Regions from separate parts of the Homo sapiens genome. Here region 2 is linked to region 1. The links are contacts of gene promoters, found by promoter capture Hi-C in human tissues and cell types (Jung and others, 2019). All regions are on one chromosome and are shown on one strand. Each heading gives the region's core, a stretch centred on a gene start or on the middle of the fragment in contact. The rest is flanking DNA. Distances are from core to core; before and after follow the strand shown.

Evidence for each region. Contacts are between HindIII fragments. The study calls those that stand out against the background at their distance.
Region 2: a contact is called between a fragment that was not itself captured here and the fragment with the promoter of DSC1 in region 1, in 1 of the 25 tissues and cell types used here (neural progenitor cells).

The regions. Positions count from the first base shown.
Region 1 is chr18:31,160,960-31,164,836 of GRCh38, forward strand. DSC1 (desmocollin 1) reads right to left here and starts at 1,897. Exons shown (of 16, transcript NM_024421.2): 1 at 1,573-1,897. The coding sequence starts at 1,635. It overlaps DSCAS (DSC1/DSC2 antisense RNA), which reads left to right. Exons shown (of 4, transcript NR_110785.1): 4 at 1,576-1,830. The HindIII fragment of the contact is 13,832 bases long and covers 1-3,877 here.
Region 2 is chr18:31,207,219-31,211,095 of GRCh38, forward strand. No RefSeq gene overlaps it. Among named protein-coding and RNA genes, the nearest start is that of DSC1, 46 kb to the left of the region's middle. RefSeq lists an enhancer at 1-108. The HindIII fragment of the contact is 3,155 bases long and covers 314-3,468 here.

The sequences.
Region 1 (3,877 bases), core at 647-3,146:
CAGACATCATAGAGTATACTTACATACACTTAGAGGATATAGTCTACTACACACCTGGGTTATACCTACATGGTATACACCATGATTTATATATGTATGCCCCATGGTATGCACCATGGTACAGCCTAGGTGTATAGTATATAGTATAGCTTATTGTAAGCTACAAACCTGTACAGCATGTTCCTCTACTGAATACTGTAGGCAATTGTAAGTATTTGTGTAACTAAACATTTTTAGATATAGAAAAAGTACATTAAAATACAATATAAAAGATAAAAAATGGTTCACCTATACAGACGAGCTCCATTATAATCTATGGGACCACTCATATATGTAGTCCATCATTGACTGAGGCATTGTTTTGCAGAGCATGACTGTATATGTGCGTGTGTGTATATATATATAAATGTACATATATATATATAAATATATGAGACATTCTTATAGTTATATCCACACTTCCACTCCCACCCCCATCTTCTTTCCTTCTTGTCCTAGGATTCCATGTTGATGGTCCTCCCTCTGCAGGCAGAGCCACTGAAGGTTTCCATTCATTAAATACTATTCCCGTCTTCAGGTTAAATCACTGACTAAGTGGCTTAGTGACACCCTTTTAGTCAGTTTCAGAGTCAGAAATAAATAAACAGGAGATGAATTGTCCAAGAGATATTAGACAGTACAGGGATCAGAAGCAAAAGAAATGTGGGTAGAATCCTTTGAAACATTTTTACCACATTTTACCAAACTTGTACTAACTTAAGATGGTATCTGAGTTATCGTCTCCCTAAGCAGTTACAGGATGAGAAGGTGACCATCAACCCTGCATTGTATATTATTTACATGGAGAAAATGTTTGTCCTCATACCTGCCATTTCTAAAAATATATTTTGAAACTCAAGTATTTTGCTAAAATGAAAAAATAGGAAACTCACACCTCAGAAATGATGGACGGATGTGTGAAATAACCCCCCTCTCTTCCCTCACCTCCAAAGAAAAAATAGCACCTTACACAGTTACAAAGCTATTAAAAACCCAAGTGGAAGCCAAGTTGAGGATATTTTCAATGACAGTCACATTTTTGTTATTTTTCTTAAACTATTCTTTGCTTAAACTGCTTCGTGGGTAAAATTCAAAAAGTCCTGGATAATTTGCATGTTCACCCAGAATCCTTTCTCTTTTTTTGCAGCTTAGTAGAACTCAGCATGTTAAATAACATGAGTTTATGTAATCACTGGTAGCAGAAGTAAACCTCAGAAACTTCTGGGCCAAATGCCTAAAGAATGAATTCACTTCTCTACTCTTAGAAAATCACCACAGCAGGATGGAAGAGGGATTCCCTTGAAAACTTTTAACACTCTGGCAGTGGGTGCTTGAGAAGTAAGCTGAACACTTTCCATCCTGAATCCCAAGCCTCTCAACTCTTCCCTGAATCTTCCTCAGATCTGCTTTTGTTTTCCCCAATCTCTCTTCTCTGCCTCCCATCCTCACTCCTAGTCTCTTTCAAGCCCAAACTGCAGAGAGGAAGCAGGTAGTAACATGCTTGAATTCCCTAATCCTTTGGTTGTTACTCACCAGGAGAGAGAAAAGGAGCTGCTTACAGAAGATGCTCCCTGGGGCAGCAGAGGCCAGAGCCATCAGAAGCAGTCCCAATGGCCAGGGACGGTGGCCAGATAACAGGGCAGCCTGGGATGCACAGAGCGGCTAAGAAGACGCTGGCACTTGCACAGGGTATTCTGCTGCCACCTTGATGCAGCTGAGCTTGGTTTGGAAGACAGTCCGGAGGCAAGTGATAAACAGTAGGAGGAGCAACGGGAGAATTTCTTTCCCCCTATTCCCTGGCCAGTCTCCTTCCTTCCAGTTCAATTACGTCTAAATGCAAAGAGGCTTTCCTACAAGTGAGGAGGGTGGGGTACAAAACACCCCAAAACCCAGTCAGTAGCTCCTCCTCACAGCAGCTTTCAAAATTTCTCTTGCCACTTAACACATAGGCAGAAGGAGGAGGGAACACCCTTCATCCTCAGCCCTCCTCCCTTTCCCCCAGGTTGATGCTGTGAAGTCCTCCCCAGTTATTACCCACTCCCACAGCCTCCCCTCCTTCTTGGCCTTATTAACCTGTCTTGCCCTCGGGTACAAACATAAATTGTGCACAAACGCCATGCAAGGAAGTGATGCCTCCTCAACTGCCATTGGCAAATCAGAGGACCTAAGCGTGTGTAATCACACTCATCAGAAGTTATCTCCCATCTAAGCATTTAAGTGTCATCGGTCCTGTAGAACACTGTAGTTCTGCTAGAGAACTGGCATTCCAGTTTAAAGCAGCAACTTCATAAAGGCATGGTATCTACTTCCTGTTATTGACTATTCACTGTGGTTGGTTCTCTAGATGTCACAGGAAACTTATCAGAATGTAAAGACTTCATAAAAGAAAGAGAATAAAGAAATAGCTAGCATATAATCTTTCTTGTGGCTTTCCTTTTGTTGTACAAGATGCCACTGCTTTTTACCTTTATATTTTTTCAAGGACAACTACAATCTTTGAGAGCAAGTCTCTCTAAAATCACTCTATTCACCCTAATTACTTGTACATTACACATAGGATATCCTAGCTTAATAGTACAATCAGGCCATCAAGTGTAGATTTTTTTAAACCCTAATGATTCCTCTAACAAGAGCTTTAGCATCATTATTCCTGTCCCAAATTAGTGAGCTCAGTGATACCAATTGCACTCAATGGCAGTGATGGAAGTTAGGACAGAAGGATAAATATTTTCAAATGTTAAGGTAGAGCCCAACACCCATGCTGCTGAGAAGGGAGGAAAGAAAGGTTTTCTTCAGCTTATTTGACAATGGGAACAATTTCTCCTTGTATGTAGAGACAGAAATAAATGTAACTGCTTCATTAGAATTAGAAGCTAGGAAGATTTGGAAAATGAATGACCCAGGAGAAAAAAAACTAAAAGATATCTTGTAGTATTTTATTGCTAGTGGTATACCCACTAATAAACATATTTTGTGACTGCATTGGAATTTGATTTCTCAATCAGAAAATACAGTCATTTTAATGGAATATTTTTATATCTGGCGTTTTGGGAGAAAAGAATGGGAATATAGAAATAGAAAAATTACTTAGATGTATATGTGTACAGCCAAGTGTAATTCTGTGCATGTTTAAGCATCATCTAAGTATATATTTAGATAGATAGATAGACAGATAAATAGATAGTCATACAGCTTAAATAATTCAAAGACAAATTCTCCAACCCTAGAAAATAGAAACACATTTTTTTCAGCTAATGAAGTTATCATTACCTTTTTCTATAACATGATATTCTCCACTGAACTAGGAAGATATAGAAGAGCAAAATTAAATTGGTGTTACTGAAAAAATGGCATATATTGGTTGGATGAAGAGATTCCAGGCACTGCTCAATTCAAATGAATCCAGAATACTCTCCACAGTTCTGGGAAGTTGATGTTCTGATCCTACTTCTTTTGGCCTACTTTCTGCGTGCTCTCTTTTCCCATTATCTATCTTTCTCAAAGGTAATAGAAAAACTTGTGTAAAAGCTAACCCCAAATTATTGGTTTGCAAATCTGTTACATTACTATTTCTCCCATATTTTGTATTTGCACACAAAGGTTTCCTAAAAATAAAATATAGGCACTTTATAGGAAAAAATAATTTATTATTACAAATTATTGACTCTTCCTTAAACGTGAATCTACCTTAAAATTAAATGAAAACAAGACATATTTCTTCCAATTTTCTGGCATTAGATCATTCAGTAAGAGCTCTGTCTTAGTCTGTTTTCTGCTGCTGTAAAGAAATACCATAGCCTGGGTAATTTATTAAAAAACAAAACAAAACAAAAACAGA
Region 2 (3,877 bases), core at 641-3,140, 46 kb after region 1:
CCTGCACTGGCTCAGGCTCCCTGGGATCTCTCTGCCCAACCCTCAATCCCCTCCTTCTACCTGCATGAAGCCTCTCATTAACGTGCCTTCCTTGACTCCTCTACAGACACCTCCCACTTAGATTCCTCAGCCTGTCTTCTTTCATCTCCTTTTTCATTTTATAAATTCTTTCCTAATTACCTCAAATCACAAGCATGTCAGATTAATTGAGTAAACCTCTTGAAAGTCTGTCCTCATAGACAGAGCACTCTGATGACAATCTTCCTCGAAGGGACAGCTAGACACTCGGTTAGGTCAGCTCCTTAGGTCTTGCGGCAATGCCTCATGTAAATGCTGCACGATATCCATTCGAGTGCAGACAATTGCCAATTACTGGTTAATAATTAGCATGGCACTCATTTCTTTATGGTAGTCATAATAATCGCAATAATAATAATAACTTCCATTTATTGGTCTAGAAATCACTGTGTGGCAGGTGCTTTTCATGCAGTAGCTTACTCAATCCCATAAGAACCCTTTGAAGGTAGGCATTTTTAGAGTAAACAGATGTACAGATTAAGGCAAAAAGAAATTCAGACGCTTTTTTGTTACATGGAATTAAGTACCAGAGACAGATTTCAAACTCAGTCTCTCTAAACACAAAGCCTGTCCATGCTTCCTGACAGCTCCAACCACATCCACTCTTCCCTCCATTGTTACTGACACTTCCATTCATGGTTTCTCCTTATTCATCACTCTCCTTAAAGAATTCTTTGCTAGAATTCTATAGATTCTGTTTATATAACACTTTTTCTGTCTATTTTCTTCCCTTCCCACTGCAACCACCCTGGTTAAGGTCTTCATTACCTTCCTCCTAAACCATCCAGCAACCATCTGACCAGTCATACTGTCTTGTTTCTCCCTCTAAATCCAGTCTTCACAGGGCTTCATATTTTCTCCTACTTAAAAAAAAAAAAAGTAATACGTTTCCACTGCCAATTAACTCAGGGAAACTTCTCATTCTAGCATTAAAATTTTTTAAAAAATTCTTTGTAAAATGAGATCAGTTTTTCTGTTGCCATATTTACTTTACTTTTAATGGCCATAGAATATTGCAGGAGAGACTGGGAAACAGAGATCAGTCACAGAAACAGATTTAGGCTCAGGCCTAAAAGATTTAGAAGAACTCTGACATCAGAAGAGGAGACACTGGGCAGGAAACTAAGGTGGGGCTTCATACAAAGAGTGAGTCCTTAGTCTTGAGAATACAAGCTTTGGTGCTGAGATGACCTGATACACTATGAAGACGAATTTAGCAAATATAAATTTTACCTTAATCATCTAAAAATTGTCTCATTTTTTAAAAATGCATGTTGATTCTAAAGATTAAATCCCAGATTCTGTATTAAAAAGAAAACTGTATTATGCTTCAAACAGTAAGAAATTCATTGGTATATTTAGAATCCCTTTTTGTAGTTTACTTCTATGATTTCCTTTGACTTTAAATAGTAGCTAGAGAGACCCTCTCAAGTTTACTGTTAATATTAATATATTATACATTGGGGGAATAAAAGGGATGACCTCACCTCCAGTTCTTGCTGTTTACCTTCTACACACCTTAAATTGAAATTATACGTTAATATCTCTACATTGGTGAACTTAAGTTAGTGACTAAGAGTATTTTAAGGTTATTAATCAATGACAGCAGGGTAATTCTATTTATAAGTAATGAATCCTAAAATGAATACTTGTTAAAAAAAAAAAAGTAGCTTCAACAGTGCTTACAATTCCCATAGTTTATTCATTCTTTTTGTGTATGTACATTATTTAAATAATTGAGGAAGTATATCAAAGCTTTAGAAATGCAAATAAAGCTGATTGTAATTGTAAATTGCCATCATTATTCTTTTGGATACCACAGCAATGTAAATTGAATAGCTAAGGCATGTAATTATGAAATTATTTAGTGGAAGGGGGTAGTCACTTCGAATCTACTTAGGTAAGGACCGCATGCCTCCAGCACACCTCGCCGTTCTTTAGCACACTCACCAGCATTCTTTAGTGGATGAACAATCTGATGCCTGATAAGATCATGGGGAGAGAGTGACAAAGGGTATTTGGGAGGAAGAAGAAAAGGATTAAGTTAACCAAAATGTTAAGTAGTTAAGAAACAAACAATTAACTCTTCAATTAGTAAATATTATAGTGCATGTTATTTTGAATCAGGCTGGGACACAGAACAGCAGAGGAGCTCATTCAAGTTCTAATTTAGTGTTCTCTGTAAGAGAGGACCATCTGAGAAAGTACAGTGTGCGATTTCACCCTGGAATCATTCAGACATTTGAAGGAGTAAAAACAAATTTGAACTGAATTGAATTTAAAATAGGTTTGCTAAATGTGCCCAGCTCTAAAAACTCTCCATTTCCAAACTCTGTGTACAACAACACATCTTTACTTAAATGTATTTTTAAACATATGCACGGTAAAATTTACTTTTTGTGGTGTTGAGTTCTAAGCATTGTGACAAACACATCAAGTCATATATCCATCATCAAAATTGTCATTGAGAACAGTTCCATCATCCCTCAAAATTTGCTTATGCTCCTCCTTTCTAGTAATCTTCTCCTTCCATTCCTAACCCCTGTCACCCACCCATGAGTTCTACAGCTCTATAGTTTTGCTTTTTTAGAATGTCATATAAATGAAATTCTATAATATGTAATTTGGGGATTTAGCTTCTTTCACTTAGCAAATCCTTTTGAGATTTAACAATGTCGCTTATACATATCAAGTCTGTTCCTTTTTATGGCTGAATAGTATTTCATTGTCTAGATGTACCATAGTTTATTTATTTACTATTCAAGTTTTTTTTTCCAGTTTTTAACAATTATGCACAAAGCTGTTAGAGATATTTACCTACAGGTTTTTTTGTGAGCATACATTTTTATTTCTCTTGAGTAATTACTCAGAGTGGCATCTGGATCATATAGTAAGTATATACTTAATCCTATAAAAAAGAACCAAACTGTTTCCCAAAATGATTGTAGCATTTTGCCTTCTCATTAACAATAAATAAGACACATAGTTCGGATATCTTTGTGCTGCAGTTGGGGTAATGTCTATTGACCTATGTTCAAGTTGACTAACCCTTTCTTCAGTTTGTGAAGTCTTCTAATGAGCCTTTGAATGTTCTTCTTCATCTCTGTTACTGTGCTTTTTATTTCTAACATTTTCATGCTATTCCATGTTATAGCGTTCCTCTCTCTGCTGAAATTGCCTTAGCTGTCTGTTTTTTGTATGTTGTCAGTTTTTTCTTTAGAAACATCAACATATTAGTTATAGTTGTTTTAAATTATCTTTCTGATAGTTCTGTCTTCTCTGTCATATCTGAATTTGGCTCTATTGATTGCTTTTCTCTTGGTAGTTTGTTGCTTTTTCTTGCTTCTTTGTATGCCTTATAATTTTTTGTTGAAAGTTGTATACCTATGTAGGAATAGAAACTGAGGCAAACAGTTTCTGCATTTGCACATGGGCATACCTGTCCTTACATTAGATCTTTATTTTGGGGAGGTGAACCAATCTAGGAAAGTGTTGAGTTGGGTTCGGTTCTTGTTGCTGTGCTGGCAATCAGTGTATACCATAGCATTCAGATTCTTCCAGAGATAACTTGTGTTTAGGGTGGAGACAGATTTGCAGTTTCTCTCACTATGTGCTTAATCTTTAGCTTGAGGTCTTCCCTTCCTGTTGTGCCTCAGAGAGGGTCTCTCTTTCTTTGTCTCTGAACTCTTGCAACTCTCCCAACATTATTGCACTGTTAGAAGTTACTCAGTGCTTGTAAGCCTGGTGAGAGGGAGGCAGCCTCTGTTATTCTGGTGAAGCCTTGGTCTTGTGTAGGTTC